Regions from separate parts of the Homo sapiens genome. Here regions 1, 2 and 4 are each linked to region 3. The links are contacts of gene promoters, found by promoter capture Hi-C in blood cells and fetal thymus (Javierre and others, 2016). All regions are on one chromosome and are shown on one strand. The core of a region is centred on a gene start or on the middle of the fragment in contact, and the rest is flanking DNA. Distances in the headings are between cores, read along the strand shown.

Evidence for each region. Contacts are between HindIII fragments. The CHiCAGO score rates a contact against its expected background, and 5 or more counts as called.
Region 1: a fragment that was not itself captured here is called in contact with the fragment with the promoter of MMGT1 in region 3 in 1 of 17 cell types (activated CD4 T cells); the score reaches 5.3 in activated CD4 T cells.
Region 2: a contact is called between a fragment that was not itself captured here and the fragment with the promoter of MMGT1 in region 3, in 1 of 17 cell types (monocytes). The highest score is 7.3, in monocytes.
Region 4: the fragment with the promoter of STK26 here is called in contact with the fragment with the promoter of MMGT1 in region 3 in 2 of 17 cell types (non-activated CD4 T cells and naive CD4 T cells); the score reaches 5.9 in non-activated CD4 T cells.

The regions. Positions count from the first base shown.
Region 1 is chrX:139,925,393-139,929,371 of GRCh38, forward strand. The region is part of intron 1 of ATP11C (ATPase phospholipid transporting 11C (ATP11C blood group)); the gene reads right to left. Among named protein-coding and RNA genes, the nearest start is that of MIR505, 3.2 kb to the left of the region's middle. The HindIII fragment of the contact is 3,310 bases long and covers 87-3,396 here.
Region 2 is chrX:131,825,598-131,830,088 of GRCh38, forward strand. All of the region lies in intron 1 of FIRRE (firre intergenic repeating RNA element), which reads right to left. Among named protein-coding and RNA genes, the nearest start is that of FIRRE, 2.8 kb to the right of the region's middle. RefSeq lists an enhancer at 465-965. The HindIII fragment of the contact is 3,457 bases long and covers 1-3,393 here.
Region 3 is chrX:135,972,061-135,976,194 of GRCh38, forward strand. MMGT1 (membrane magnesium transporter 1) reads right to left here and starts at 1,928. Exons shown (of 4, transcript NM_173470.3): 1 at 1,537-1,928. The coding sequence starts at 1,615. It also overlaps a transcript of SLC9A6 not described here. RefSeq lists an enhancer at 1,477-2,006 and a silencer at 2,017-2,126. The HindIII fragment of the contact is 2,640 bases long and covers 572-3,211 here.
Region 4 is chrX:132,021,848-132,025,868 of GRCh38, forward strand. It overlaps STK26 (serine/threonine kinase 26), which reads left to right and starts at 1,455. Exons shown (of 12, transcript NM_016542.4): 1 at 1,455-1,560; 2 at 1,661-1,812. The coding sequence starts at 1,771. RefSeq lists enhancers at 1,003-1,549, 1,037-1,086, 1,537-1,696, 1,550-2,097, 2,067-2,136 and a silencer at 1,247-1,496. The HindIII fragment of the contact is 2,994 bases long and covers 1-2,490 here.

The sequences.
Region 1 (3,979 bases), core at 492-2,991, 4.0 Mb after region 3:
CTCCCGCCTCAGCCTCTCAAGTAGCTGGGATTACAGGCCTGTGCTACCACTCCTGGCTAATTTTGTAGCCCAGTCTGAAATGCATAAGCTTCTTGGTGGCTGCTTCCTAAACTGATCATTCTTCATCTGTTATTACTGACTCAGACTGTGTTACCAATTCAGCTCAAAACAATTAAACAAGTATTAATTGAACATCTACTGTTTACCTGATGCTGTGCTAACTGCAAGATCATTTTCAAGAACACTTCTGATTTTTCCAAGAATACCTTGGTAAAGAGAAAGGGACTAGGAAAACATTGCCACATTAATACTTTATGACAACATATAATAGAGACGTCTAAAAAACAAATGATGATATCTGCTTGAACAGCAATATCATCAACATCACCAATCCTCCCATATTCCATTAAATACATATGGCACAAGAAATCAATGATTTCTACTTCACAAATACAGGTTAACCTTCTAAATCTGGAAATCCACGGTCCATTATCATTTATAAATCACATCTTCTATTATCAAGAAGTCAGCCGACCCAGTAATCCGTCCATACACTGCAATAATTGAGGGGCTGTCTGCCAATGTGTGGGCATAGGGCATCCTGTGCCCATATCTGCAGTGCTGAGCACTCATTCATCATTAAGCTGCAGCAGTGTTAACATATGCTGCAGTTGTGCCAGTATGTTTTGTTTTACGATCACCGCTAATCTACCCTTATACCAGGCCAAGAAGGTAAATGTTAAGTGAAAGGAAATAAACTCGAGAGCCAGCACCTAATTCATTTGTGGAAGCCCAGAACCTCCCTCCACCTAACCAGAAAAACTCCCCCAGTCTCGAGGGTTCCAGATGTAAAAGGTTCATCTGTATAAAGCACTACAGATGTACAGGAAATTCCACCACCTTGAAGAAAAAAATAGTATTTTTTTTTTATATCCCATGCATTCACCCTCTTTGAGAGAACTGAATAACCATGTTAGACAAGCAATGAGCCTTGATTTTTTCCATCACTCAACAAACCAGTATTTGATTTCACTCAGTGGGCTAGTTCTTTGCACATCATGCAGACACAGCAAGGTTAGTTATGGTTCTTTCAGGGGCCACTGGCCATCCTTTACCTCCTAGAACCCACTGCTCAGCAGGTGGTAAACTGGCAGCTTTTTGAAAAAACAAGCTCTTTTGAACAGTTGCATCAATATAAAAATGGCCAGCTTCACCTGCCCAAATCTCAATTCAGCTAAAAGTTAATTAGGAACACTGGAAACTACCTGGTATATAGGCACTCAATATTACTCACTAAATGGCTGAATTATTAGCAATAAGCATAAACAAAAGGAACAAACAGTAAACACTTACAGAAAGTATTCAGGACACATTCAGAGTTTTATGTTGCTTAGTCACTAAAAGGTAGATCAGGAAAAAAGAAGACAAAACCTGCTTTCACTTGTGTAAAGATTTATTTCAAGTTACAGTGGTTCATTTCTAAATAAGTTTCCCACCTTGCGTGGGGTCAGCCTAGCATCTATTTGCAAAAGAGCAGTTTGCCATGCGTAGGTCAGATGAAAGGAGACAAATGCAAGAAACTCCTTTTTAACTGACATCCAAACAACCAGAAAATAACTGATATTGTACAATCTATTTTTAGTAGAAAGAAAAATGACAAGTATGTAATAGTAACTTATTCACAAAGATCAAATTTCATGGTATGTCACAAATGTATTCAATGCAATGCAGTTACCATGCCCTCTATATCTATAGTTGTGTATGTAATGATAATTACAGCTCAGGAAGACAGGAACCTTGTCTGTCTTGCTCATCTACGACCCCAGGATTGACTGCAGTGCCCAGCACATAGTAGGTGCTCAGTGAATATTTGCTGAATGATAATTGCTCTGCAAAACCATACAATGCCTTAATCATCTAAGAAAGAGGCCAGGCATGCTGGCTCTTGCCTGTAATTCCAGCACTTTGGGAGGCCGAGGTAGGGAAATCGCCTGAGGTCAAGAGCTCGAGACTAGCCTGGCCAACATGGTGAAACCCCGTTTCTACTAAAAAATACAAAAAATTAGCCAGGCGTGGTGGCAGGCGCCTGTAATCCCAGCTACTAGGGGGGCTGAGGCAGGAGAATCGCTTGAACTCGTGAGGCGGAGGTTGCAGTGAGCCAAGATCGTGCCATTGCACTCCAGCCTGGATGACAAGAGTAAGACTCTGTCTCAAAAAAAATAACAATAAAAATAAAAATAAATAAAAGAAGGGGATATTTTGTGGCCGGGCTCATGCAGATGGCAGATCCTGGGACTTCTCAGCCTCTGTAACTGCATGATCCAATTCCCATAATAAATCTCAAAAAAAAGGAAAAAAAAAAAGATTATACTATGGTCAGTATAGCTTTCGGCATTAGATGTATTTATTCTAATTCTTAGAATACTAGTAATGTATACGGTATACCCCAACTAACAAGAACTCATTCTTTGCTCATTCTGCATAAGAGCGGGTTTACAATAATCACTATCTGTAAGTAAAGGTTATTATTTATGGGATACATACAAAAGTTGTTCTTTCAAAAAATATTTTACTGAACACCTACTAGGGACCAGGCACTGTGCTAGGAGCTAAGAACACACTGTGAACTGTCCCTGTCTAGGACAGCCTTTCTCAATTAGGGTTCCTTCACTCCAGCTGCGCAGGAAAATGTTAATTTATTACTAACAATGCATGTCCTAGGGCATCAGTGCCAATTCTCTCCATGTTGAGAAAGACTAGGGAGCCATACAAGTTAAAAGGCAATTATAACACAATATGATTTAAAAAAAAAAAGTTGCTTTTAAGTATGGTCAAGTTCAACTGCTAAACCTAGACCTCTATGAACAGCCATGTGGGAGCCGAGATACACAGACCATTTGTAATAGTTGTGCAAATGTAAAAATATTGCAATACATACATACAGATATATTTCTAAACACAGTAAAATAAAATCAATATTTTCCCGCTCGTCAATGTCAGGCCAGGATTATTAGTAAAGTGAAACAGAAAAAAAAAAATGTTTAATTACTCTGATAGTTTAAAGGGGAAACTAAAAACCTTCTTGCTCCTGGGGAAAAAACAAAGCAATTACCTGAACTATTTTCTTAATTGCCTCCATATATTGCTTCATTAGACTAGCCTTGCCTTGGACTCAAAGCAATAAATTAGCTACCTATTTCATTAATTCTTATTTTGTATTTTTTAGTCTTATTTTAAATTTCCATTCTTCCTTATGCAGTCTAATTTCTTCCTAGTCCTGGGCATCTTCTGTGTGATATTATGATTATATGCTACATGCTTTATGAAACCAAAGCAGTTTAAGGGCTTCTAGAATCAGAGATTTAAATGTACTCCAGTATTTCACACTCACAATTAAGCTTTCATGTATCAAAGGTCTAGAAATGCATACCTGTTAACTATCACTGACAAGCTAAACTGACAGCATCCTCTTGACCAAGCCCCCAACCTACTTTATCAAGAAATCTCTTATTTTGAATCTTTAGTATAAAATAATTTCATAAGCCAAAAAGAGGGGGGAATTGTTTTTAGACTTTCAATAAATCTTTAAACCCAAGAGAACACGTTACTATAGTCACTAGGAATTGCATTAAGAATAAAACAAGACAGGATAACATAAAAGTCCATGACCCTTAAATCTCAACTAGTCCAGACTTCTGATTAAATATGCCTTTGAAGAAAATAAATTGTACAGACAGAGTTATTATTACTTATTTACTGTATTTATGGAGATGTTGACTTGAGAACAGGTGGTGCTTTTATTGCACTCAGAGACATCCAACTCTTAAATCCTTTAGGACACCCTCTACATGCCTCAACCCTAAAATGCTATACACCAAATCCACCAATTTCTTTCCACCTCAAAACTGTCAAAAGGAAAGTCATAATTCATCAGAAAGAAAGGAACACAGTTATTAATGGCAAAGAAGTCAAGACCATG
Region 2 (4,491 bases), core at 415-2,914, 4.1 Mb before region 3:
CATTAGAAACATCACTGTAGAAAATTACACACTGTTAGTTGCTTGACTGGGGAACTTTCCAGATAACTTCCTTTCTGCCTATTTGCTTTTCTGAACCAATAGGTTTATGTGTTCAACTTGAATTAATAACATATGTAATTAAGAGAGAAAGAAAGACTTCATCTTTCATTTCTATTTCCTTGCTATTAGCCAACCAGAATGGTTTGATTCCCGTTACAACATTTCACATTTTCTTCCCTAAATCAGAGGTGTGGTCATCTCCCCTATTGAGGACTTGGCGAATGGATTTCAATCTTTCCAAAGGCTTAAAAAGACTACCTACTATAGCTGAACTTACTGTAGTTGAACTTGGACAATGGATGTTTTGCCCCCTCCCCACCGCCATCCTTGCAAAAGAAATCTCAGCGATCCTCTTTGTCCTCTCCTTTCTACTTTCCTGTGGGAGTTTGGCTGTGCGATCACTTTCAAGAGGTAGTCTCTGGACAAAGGGTATGCTCATGTGAAAGGTTAAATGATTTGGCCTGTTGACCTTCAAAGAGGTGTACCAATTAACAGTGCTTCTCACCTGGTAGGACCTTGTCCAATTCTACAAATCATTACACAAACACTGACATCAATGGATTCCTTTTCAAAGGCTTGCTCGGGGTTATGATGAAGATTTAAGGGCATTATGGAAGAATACAGTGAACTGCAATTTACTTCAGTACTGGTGAATTTGAGACTGTGATAATAGAGGTGCCTTATTCCTTTGCCATCTTTCCTGCTGAGTGGTTTTCTTTTTAACTACATTTTGAAACAGCTTTTGATCTGAGCTGACTGTCAATGATTGAGTGGTATTGAGAGTTGGCAATAGTTATAATCTCCCATTCCTGGTCACGGTGTCACGTTTGAATTCCTGGGACTCAGCAAGTTGCTGCTGCTTTAGGCCTCTATCCACTCTCTGACCAGATAGTCTCTTAATGTAAACCAAAATGTGTGGGAATACAAAATTCCTGACCCTGAGGAATTCTAGGGCTGGGGCTACCTCTCTGTCACTCACAATTCTAAGTTAAGTTATGGTGCACTGTCTCCACACATCTGGCTTTCCTAGTCTAGCATATGGTCAAGTCAAACTGTGACTCAACAGCAGGCAGCCTAACCCATCTGATGCAGGGTTTCTCTCAGTCACCTGCTTAGCTGAAGTAGGCTGAAAAGGTCAGAGGTCACCTTACACTTTCATAAGGTATTTGAGACCATTGAGACATGCTTTCTCAAATGTTTTCAAACCCTTCTTGGCTCATGTCAACCTATAACATCCTCAAGGACAGCTAGACCAAGGCATGAATAGCAGGAAAGTCAATTTCCCCAGGGACCCTATGGTCTTTGTAGTAGTTGCTAAAAACTTCCTAGTAGATGTTATAGCTCCACCCTGGGCAAGTAGAATTCAGGTGGTGACCATATGTTACAGCAGTGCATGAGAATAACATTCCTTTCTCTTCTGTAAGTGGTCAGCCACTGAATCCATCACTGATACACGAGAAAACTCTCACATGCAGTCAATCTTACAAAATTTTTGCCTTTTCTTGCTATGCTATGGGCAAGTGTCCTGAGGGTCCTGATGTGCTCAGCTTTTAGAGGGCTTACAAGGAATCTTCATTAGAAAAAGGCTAAGAAGCAGGCACAGAGAACAATACTTGCTAATCTGAATGAACAGTTAGGTCCCAAGTCTCAATGGCCTCATCTTCCTTAGGGGAAGGCCAATAGCTAAAGAACTCATTTCTGTTCCTTTAATAGAGCTAAGAGTAGGTTTCTCTAAATAGGTAGGCCTTCACACTGGGCCCTAGAAAAAGTGCTGCAAAGCCATGGTAGCTGTTACCTCCTGGCTTCAGAAAATACTTCCAGGTCTTCTGGTTGTGTATATCTGCACTCCTATTGATGTTCAAGGATTTATTGGCTTGGCCAAGTGACACACACTGCCTTCTCCTCAGGTCTTCCTTGCTCTAGGCAATGGGGGCACCAGACTTTTAGGTATCCTTGAGACCCCCAGAAAGCACGCTGGCTGCTGTTAGATATCATCTGGAATGAGATGTTTCATCTGCACCCTAACATTGCTTACACCTTGTGCCAACCCCCTACCTCATTGTTCAAAGGGCATGGCCAGAGGATATGTGGCCAGAAGTCCCCCCAAATAGGATCTGAGCCATTTGTTTTAGCCCCACCCTCACTGGGTAGATATCTAAGCCCCAATACTTCCTATACTCCACCTGCCTAGTAGCTGTCCCTTCAGTCCTCCCCCTGACCCCCCACTTATCAGCTTCTCCCCCAGGATCCTGCCTTTGTCCAGAGCTCCTGGAAGGCTTCAGATTTAAAGTGAAGGGGACCTACTTAGGGCTAGGGTCCACTCAACCTCACAAAAGGCCCAACATTTCTCAGTTGCTAAAACTTGGGGGGGCTCTAACAACTTTGGGTTTGTGTTTTGTCAAACTACATCCTCTTGATGGCAGTATTGCTCTGGAAAAGCTGATTAGCCTTGCCTGGGCACCCCACCCCCAGAGCCCTTCTCCTCTCACCCATTCAATCTGAAAAAAGCTACCAAGACAAAGGAGACAGGAAACAAAGCTGCCTTGCTATTGGCCCTGTTTGGGGAAAATCTGCTCTTTCGAATTTACTTTTGCTCCTGGTTTCCCTCTGAACTCAGACTGAAGCCTATACCACCCAGTTTCATCAGCCATACTTTGTTTAAAGAATCCCATTTCCGATAGCATTAGGAGATATACCTAATGCTAAATGACGAGTTAATGGGTGCAGCACACCAGCATGGCACATGTATACATATGTAACTAACCTGCTCATTGTGCACATGTACCCTAAAACTTAAAGTATAATAATAATAAAATTTAAAAAAACAAAAAAATGCCCATTTCCACTCTACCATAGCTTTGTAGGTCTGCTCTTCTTCATTCAACCTTGATCCCCAACAATTTCCCAAGTTATCTGCTTCAGTGGGAAATTCTTAGGGACCTAGGGCTAAGAAAGTGAAGAAAATAATGGAAATAACAGCCTAGAGAAGAACAAATCTAGGCACCAGGCCATGTGACTTGTTTCACTGCCAGGTTCCCTGGGAGTCCTCCATTTTCTGACCTGGGCACTAGGTCTTGTGTATTGAGTTGGGGGCAGCCATGTCAGAACCCTAATAGGAGGGTCCAGATAGATCTCAAGGCTGAATTCCATACAATATCCCTCTTGGGGTGACACACACACTCCAAACTTACAAAATTCCAGTAGAAAGGAACATGATTTTGTCTTATGGTTCCATCATTCAACATTAAAACACAAGCAAGTTCCCATGCACATCATTATTTGACTTTTAATGGCTTCCTATGGCTTTATTATATATGTGTGTGCCACTGCTTAAGCTTAGGAATCAGTCTTATGGTGTTTCCTCATAAGTAATTAAGACATGGTGCTTGTAAAGAATTTAGAAAATAACCATGTGCTGATCAAGAACAAAAGCACTGTCATAAAATCTTGTATTAAACACTAATAGCCTTTTGCATATTTACTCCCATTATTTCAACATGCACAGAGGTCTATATTTACGGTAATACACTACAATAAGCATATTTAAATTAAATTTATATATGCATCATGTTTTAGATGCAAACTTTTCACTGCTCATTCCTGGGTAACTGAAATTGTCATGAAATATTTGCAAGACCTGGATTTTAGATAATAAAATATTTGCAATGAGCTTCTTGATTGACTAATTCATTAAAGAATGTTAGGTTCTCAATTTTTAAAAAATTTATACACAGGACATAATACCTATAATGCCACCACTCAAGTATCTTAATTTTGATACCTGCCTTACCTAATCATTAGTATGCTGACTATATATATATATATATATACATGCTAACATTGGAACAGGCACTATGTGCTTATGCCTCAGAACATTAGGGTTTCTTTTGTTTATATTTTTCAAAACTTATACCAAAATTTTATCTTAAAATTTTATGTAAAATCTATAAAGTTGAAACGCATACTCACTCTAACACTGACCATGATTATGCATGATATGCATAATGCATATATATGTATAAGCATTAGATAGATAGGTCCAAGTTACCTGGTTACAGGCCTAGAGGGAAAAGAAAATGATTGCACCTATTATATATATATTTACTTCTCTTTATTTATTTATTTTTATTCAGCCTCTGGGAGCATGGACTATCCTTTTCTTTAAAGACAATTGAATGCAAACTGGATACAGTTTTGCACAAATTCTTCAACACCACCTTATACCATTTGCATACATGAATGACAATGTATATTTGAGTGCTTGGATTTTTTTTGTATCTTACTCTAGAAGACCTTTCTATTTCAAGAAATTACAAAAGTTACACCCACTGTTGGCACCGTTTAGATTTTAAGAAATTATAAGTAGAAAGTAAACGGTACTTCAATCACAACAAGAAATAGCCACTTAAAAATATCCTTGCCATACATTCT
Region 3 (4,134 bases), core at 678-3,177:
GTAACAAAGTTCATTACAGCAAAGATGAGCATGCCACAGCACCACATTGTGCTATCTGCTGCTACAGTCTGACATGACACACTTAGTCTTAAAGTTACATATTACTCTCTCCCTAACATGAGCATTATATATAAAGAGGTCTCACTGCAGTGGCAAATCCACAAGGCATTCTCATCACCCAAAACATAAAATACAAAAATCTTAATTCTAGATGAACCTAGGACAATCCCTATTTAATAACGTACTTTGGACTAAATAATTCAAACTGTTTTTGAGTGCATGTGTATTGACTCTTGAAGAAGAATGTGTTTAGAGACATTTCTTAAGTTTTAACCTACAGCTCTGTCATAAAGACAAGTGTAAAAGAAACATCAAACCAACACCAAAAATCGATTTTGACTAATCTCCTATCTGGTTCAATTCCTAGCTAGCTTGCTAGTTTGCATGAAGCCTCGCCTGCTTCTAACACTACCTTTAACCAGGAATTTCCTCATCTGTAAAATGAAGGGGTTGGACTTCAGTGAACTCCAAAGGCCCTTCTCGCCCCACAATCATATAATTCTACAGTTAAAGCTTACTGTAGAAAATGACACAGTACTCCAGTGTATCCTAATCTCTTCCAGGACAGTGTTTCTCAAACTAATGCGCATACAAATCACCCTGGGATCTTATTAAAACCCAGATTCTGATTGAACAGGTCTGGCCTGAGTATCTTCTAATTACCTGCCAGGTGGTGCTCATGATGCTGGTCTGTTGATCACACTGTAAGCAGCAAGGATCTAGGATACTTTCCTTAACCTCCCAGTTCCCCCAAAATATGACTGTCCCTGCTTCCATGCATCCTTATATACTTTTAGCATATCACTTTATTGTAACTACTTCTTGATCCACTTGTTTTCCTTTAGACTTTGAACTGGCTCAGGGCATCACTGTATCTCTAGCACCTAAACACAGCGCAATTTCAAACAGCGACCCAAAACTGAATTTCATAACGCAGTGTAGCACAAATCTTTTGCCCAACGTCACACAGATGTAGCGGTAATGCAAGTTTTTAACAACCAGTCCTTTAGACTCCCAGTCCAGTGCTCTTTCTCCTGTACCACAGTGCCTCCCTGAGGCAATCGGTCACTTAACTACTCAGTCTCTGCCTGGACAGCCCAAGAGTGCCCAAGATGTTGTCCACTTGGTTGTCGTGGGACCATGAGCAACCAGAGTCCTCAATCTCACAACTGTGCCTGATCTGCCCCATGCTGGATCTGACATCACTTGTCCTGGATTCCTGGAGACTCCTATTCTGAACCCTCTCCCAGACACCTCCTTCCAACCTTCCTGCAATTTCAGGTGCCACACTCTCTCCAAATTCAAACTCCGAACCTTCCACTGGGAACTCCTGCACTGATTTTCTTAGTCACCCCAAACTGTAAGGTCTCAAAGGACCATTAATCTGACACTCGGTCCGATGGTCCCTTAGAAGTGCGCCCACACACCGCCCCTAGGGTTCCACACCGAAGCGGTCCCCGTGCCCCAGGCACTTACGCTGCGCAGCGGAAAAGGCGGCGTGGGCTAGGGCAAAGAGACCGATGCCCACCAGCCCCTTCCACAGCGACGGCGCCATGATGCCGAAGGAGCAGCAGCCCAGCAAAAGAAGCGAAGGACGGCGGAGCTGTTTCTTCTTCCACCGGCGGGTGTCCGCGCGCCGCAGAAAGATGACGTCACTGAAGTCCTGAGCGCAAAGTGTCTCAGTGGTGGAAAAGCCAGAGGGCTGTGAGAAAACGGAAACAGGAATGCCGGGAAGAAGCAGAAAGCTACACGGAAAAAGGTCCGCGAGAACCCACGAACCTGCGCTATGGAGGCCTCTCTAGGAGGGCCGGAGCCCAACGGAGTCATAAACGAAGAGGCGAAAGCGGGAGCTACGGGGAAGCGAAGAGGAAGGGCGCCGGCAAATGGGGGCAGGGCCAGTGGCGAGAACAGGGTGGGGCAGAGGGACGGGGGCCTGCGTAGAGAACGTGTGGGGGCGAGGGGCGGGGTAGGCAGACGGGCGGGGTGGGGAAGACGCGCGGGGCCCGCACGAGGGTGGGTGTAGCCGAGGGGCGGGGCCAGTGGGTGGGTGGGTGGGCGTAGCCGGGGGGGGGGGGCCCTGGTGGGTGCGGTCGAGTGGCGGGGCCTGCGGGGAGGATGGGTGGGGCCGAGGGGCGGGGAGGAGGTGGGGCCGAGGGGCGGGGAGGAGGTGGGGCCGAGGGGCGGGGAGGAGGTGGGGCCGAGGGCGGGGCCTACGGGAGGATGGGTGGGGCGTAGGGGGCGGGGCGGAGGGGACGGAGAGTGGGTGAGGGCCGAGGGGGCGGGGAGGAGGTGGGACCGAGGGGCGGGGAGGAGGTGGGACCGAGGGGGCGCGGAGGAGTGGGACCGAGGGGGCGGGGAGGAGGTGGGGCCGAGGGGCGGGAGGAGGTGGGGCCGAGGGGCGGGGCTGGGGGCGTTGGGGAAAGGCGGTAGGTGCTGGATATAGACCCCTGACAGTTGTGTTTTGTGGGTTGGTTGGTTTTGGCTTTTTGTGAAACTGTGCCTTTTGTTTTCTGTAGGCCTTTCCTGTGCTTCAGCTCCCTGGAAACTGGCACTGCAGAAGGAGGCAAGGGTGTTAAAACGAGGAGGCAGTGTCAGGACAAAATCCCAGGATCTGGAACCCCAAATACTTGGCTCGCGGGAAGTGCTCAGTAAACCATTTTAAGGTCCTGGAGAAAGATTCGCGCAAAAAGAGGTGTAGCGCGGGGGGAGTGTTTTGTCGTGAAAAGAACCAGCTTACATTAAGGAAGAAATGAAAGAGGAAATTTTAAAATGCTAATAACGCAGCCTTCTTGCCTTGTCTCTATCTCTGATCCGGGTAAAATGTATACTCCTCTGCCCATTTTTCTTTGTCTTCATCTCCTGAAATGTAGACATTTAATAGTGAGCTTCTCCCCTTGACCTCATCACTCTGCTGTCCCCTGGGGAGCTCACCCATTCATTCCCACCGCTTCAGCCAGCAAAGGTATTACAGTGATTCCAAATCGACATCTCTATCACAAATATCTCTCCTTAGCTCCAGGGCTGCATTTCTGACTACCAGATAGGCATTTATTTCCTGTGGCACTTAAAACGTAATATGGCTAAAATGGAATTCATCCTTTTTTTCCAAATTCTGCACCAGTTCCTCCAGTGACCCCTGACTGAGTGGCAAAGCTTTGTAAACTGCATATCACAAGGTAAATGCAAAGTATGATCACCATTCTTTTCCTTTAACCCAATCAGAATTCTACGTTTTAGTTGCATCAATTTGCTTTTGCTCAAAGATGCGTCCTATCCTGACCACCCCTTTTAAATGTGCAAAATTCCTATTCCTGATCCCCTTATTCTGTTCTACTTTTTATATCACCTTCTAACATACTATATAATTTAACTATTTATGTTTGTTGTGTTACTGTTTACTGTCTGTCTTTCCCCACTGGAATGTAAGCTCTGAGAGAACAGAGATTTCTCTGTACCTAAAACTTTGACTGTCATGTGATAAGCATTCAATAAGTGCTTGTTGAATGACAAATGAATTCCGGAAAATAATTGGGACAGTATCCCTATTTGAAAGGATCTCTACAGAGAGTCCTTCCAATCTTTTGAATTGGGCTCAAAAATCCCCATGGACTTGCATGTACTCTCACATTTTGACAACCTTTTGATTGTAAACATTTTCTGATATGCTTGAGCTTCCTCAAAGCTGGAAAAACAAATAAGACATCTCATTAGCTGGGCATAGTAGCACATGCTTGTAGTCCTAGCTACTTGGGAAGCTAAAGAAGGAGGATTGCTTGATCCCAGGAGTTCAAGGCTACAGTGAGCCATGATTATGCCACTGCACTACAGGCTGAGTGACAGAGCGAGACCCTTTCTCTAACCAAAAAAAAAAAAAAAAAAAAGTAGAAGAAGACATCTAAAATTAATCATATTTCCTCAACTTTACTTATATAATTTTTGTCCTGGATCTCATTTTCCAAACCTTTAGTCATGTTCATTATTCTTTTCTGGGCCCTTTCCAATTTCTTCACCTCTAAGCCAGAATTTTACACAATACTTGATGGATGTCAAGTGCAGTATAATGCATTCCTTACA
Region 4 (4,021 bases), core at 205-2,704, 4.0 Mb before region 3:
GACTTGGGGAACTAGGAGTAAGGAAAATGCAATTGTACCTTTTATCATCATTAAACACAAACAGAAACCATAGAGAAAGTAGTAAGTTTATCACCAGTCAGAGGGACCTGCGTCTGAATTCCCAGCTGTACCACTTCTTAATTGCGTGACATTTCGGTCAAATTATTTAACCTGGTTGAGCCTTTTTCTTCATCTGTAAAATGAGGGGAAATCAATAAGACTCCAGAAGGCCCTTGTACAGGTTCAGTAAGGTATTAATAACACATAGAAAGCACTTAGCAGTCCCTGGCACAATGAAAATAATATCCATTAATAATAACGATATTGATAAGAATTATATACTATTCTCTGAAAAAGATTTAAAAGGAAGAAGAGAAACTATCTTTTACCACTAGAGGCCCCCCACCGTGTGGTGCGTAGAGACCCATAACAAATTTCAAGGTAAGGAACTTCATCTTCATTTTAAACTGGCACTCGACTATTACTTTTTTAAAAAGTAATTAACCCCTTACGTGTTCCCAAAGGTGCCTTCATAATGAAATTCCTGTTACTATTATTACCAGTGTTACTGTCGCTACTGTTAGAGTACTCTCAAAAGAGCCTGTCTCCCTCTCCTGGAGTAGAACTTAAAATGGGGCGGAGGCAGGGAGTTACCAAAACCACTGCAGTGTATGCTGATTTCAATAACCTGTACTGCTAACGATCCAATCTCATTTCCCAAGCCTCTACTATCCTCATTAATTTTTCTGCCGATGTACCATCTGTTTTCCAATTTCCCTCTGCCTTACACGTGCAGAACTTGTGGTAGAGAGAAGCCCTAGTTTGGCCGTTCTGCAAGGGATAGCCCAGGAGGTAGGGGGAACCTTAAGTTGAAGTCACCTGAAGCATGTTTGGGGTCAGGGAACTCGGAAAGCAAGAGTGTGGCCACAGATCTGCCCAGAGGCGCGACCCCCAGCTGAGGAGACCAGATGGCGGGAAAAAGCGGGGGTCCACCGACTCCGCGGCTATCTGTAATCCTACCCTTGGCCAGGCCGGGGAGCCAAGAAAGACTTCCAACACTCCCCAAGTTTCAGCTCAAGTCGTCTCCGAGGCTGCGTGTGCCCCAGCCTCGCACGCCTCCCTGCAACGTGGCCGCATCTGGGGCGCCCTCATACCCTCAGGGTTTCCCAAACTCTTCCATTCTCTTCCCAGGCCCAGCCATGTCCCAGGTCTCCGGGTCCCCGGGTTCTCCTCTCCGCGTGCCGGGAGAGTCTCCAGCTTCTCAGACTCCAGCAACCCCAGCCAAACCTCTTCGCTGCCTGGAGCCTTGGCTCCCGCGACACCGCCCGGCTGCGGGGCGGGGGCAGGGCCAACGGCGGAACCGCCCCCAACCGCCTCCCAGGCCAGGCGAGCAGGCGGGTGGCTGGGGCGCCTCCACCTCCTCTTCCTAAAGCGGCGAGGCGCAGAGGAGCGGCATCACTCGAGCCCAGGTCCCAGCCACCACCACTCACAGCGCTCGGCGTTCAGGAAGAGGAGCAGCAGCGGAGGCGGCTGCTTCAGCGGCGGGCGGGCGCCAGAAAGGTAGACTGAGTCCCAGGGAGCTGCGCCGCTAACAGCCCACCTCCTAGCCCCGGGCTACGCGCCGCCAGCCCAGTAACCCCACTTTTGTGTGTCCTCCCAGGCCCCGATCGAAAAGCCTGGGAGGGCCGCCGAACTACCCCCGGAGGGAGGAGCCAGTCCGAACCCAAGGCGCCACCGCCGCAGAAGCGGAGCGAGGCAGCATTCGCCTCCATGGCCCACTCGCCGGTGGCTGTCCAAGTGCCTGGGATGCAGGTGAGGAAGCGCAGGCCGCCCCCGCCGCCCACGTGACTGCTTGGGAGCCCGGTGCGCCCTCGGTGCTGGGCACCGGCGACAAGGGACGGCCCCAGGGCTCCCCTGAGGGCAGGGCCGGTCACTATGGCCAGGTGACCTGGGAGTAGGGCTGGAGGTGTTTCCTGGTGTGTAGGCTAGGTAGTGCTCTTCGCTGGGAAGGCGAGGCGGGACTGGAGCGCGCAACTAGGTGGAGATTGAGGGCGGTTGGGGGTATAAAAATAGGCCAGAGCCACAGACACCTGCGCCTGCTGAGCTTGGCACGGTTGGGGATGGGGGGGCGGAACTTAACCTGGGAGAGATGGAAGTGCCTTGGAATTTGTGGGGTATAACGCGAGTAGTGAGTGCCCTACACCCCCCACCCCAAACACACACTCAAGTTGGGGCGGGGCAACACCAGGGGTGGCGGCGGCGGCGGCTTGAATTGGGCTCTTCCTGTGTGCGTAGGGCTAAGAGAGAGGTGACCTCTTTCTCCCTTTCGGTACTGCTGCTTAAGGGCAAAGTTGTAGCTTGCTCCCCGACCTAGCCCAGCCCATAGTGTGGCGTGAGAAATGCTGGTTCTGTTCAGAGTCACTGAGGTGATGACTTCTCAGCCCCCTCCGTGCCTTTCCCACAAGATGACTGTTACATGTGGTTAAAGGAAGCTTTTTGTCTTGGACAAGGGACTACTGCATGGGACCCAACTTGTTACTCGAAGTCTACCCAGCCCAACCCCCTCCCATTATATTTTCATTTTATTAAAGATAAGCTATGTCAGAAAACTTTTTATGCTGTTATGTTTTTAAATCGGTGCATTTTAGGCTATCTGCTAAGTGTTATCCAAATTTACTAACTTTTTAAAGCATTCATGTTCTATTTTTTTTTCCTTTGCTAGATGGCCTAAACAACCCATTTAGGGGCTAAAACCACTGAAGCCTCAGTCTTTCATGATCTAAAATGTGAAAACAAACTTTTTTGAAGTTCAAAAATAAAATGTTTATAGTAAATAGCTTATATTTCTAGTAGAAATCAAAGAGCTGTAGACTGGGGCCTCAATTTACTTATTGATACATGGAGTTTTTTTTTTTTTTTCAGTGTTCTCATTTTATGAATGTCCACAAAAGTGATTTTTAAATTCTTTCCCAAAATGGGATTTATTTGTGCACCTAGAACTCTTGGTGTGTCCTAAACACCAGACATTTCAGCTGCATTTAGGGCAAGTCTGGGTTGAGTCTCAGGAAGTTAGTGTATATTAAATAAAGAGAGAGAGAGAAAGGGAAATAGGAAATAGTAGGGCTTAAAAAAAAAGATTAATCCACTCAAGCCTTGCAAAATGCCTTAAACTTTCTTCCTCTCAGGCGGCCTCCCCTCTCCTTCCCTCCTTCTTTTCCCCACGCACCCTGCCCCACACCCCATTCATTCAGTTCTGCCTTTGATTGTATCAAGGGAATTCATAGTTCACAATACTAAGTACAGTTTTGCTGTTTGATCTGGGAAAAAGTGACATTTTCTCACCGTGCTCTTCTTTCCATTCTGTGGAGAGTAAAACGATGCACATGTGAAGTTTGTCTCTGAGGGTCTCCATGCTTCTCGCTCCATTGTGTGCGCGAGCCTGCGTGTGTGCGTCAGCAGAGTGAGTGCCTCCAGTTCATCAAGTTTGTGATTCTGGGGAACTCTGTGTGCTGAGGGGAAAATGGTTTCTGATTTTTATTTTATTTGTCTTGAACTTATTGAATTTATATGGTTTAGGAACTGCTTGCTGTTCAGTATTTCTGATTGCTCCCTGCTTTTAATTATCTGAGTTGCCTATCTCTTGAATTTTTAAATCTTAATTAATGTGGATTCGAATGTGAATCATATACTTTAAATTACAAATTCTGCCTTTCACTCTGTGCCCTCTGAGTTGTGATTACTTTGTCCCACCTAATTTGAGTAGGGCAAACATCTCAACGTTAGCAAAGAAGAGAGGAATCTTTTTTTTTTTTTTTTTTGGTCATTCTCTTCATCTTAATGAAATGGTAAATTCTTAACTTCTTATTTCCATTTTATTTCTAATGTAGTTCTTAAGCACTTTGTGCAGCACACAGTTTTTTCCATAGTTGAAAATGTACAATACCTTAATAATAAATTTGATAGCATGCAGTGTGACTCTTGAAGCTAGACTATTTTTATTATTGTTATGTAGCAAAATATT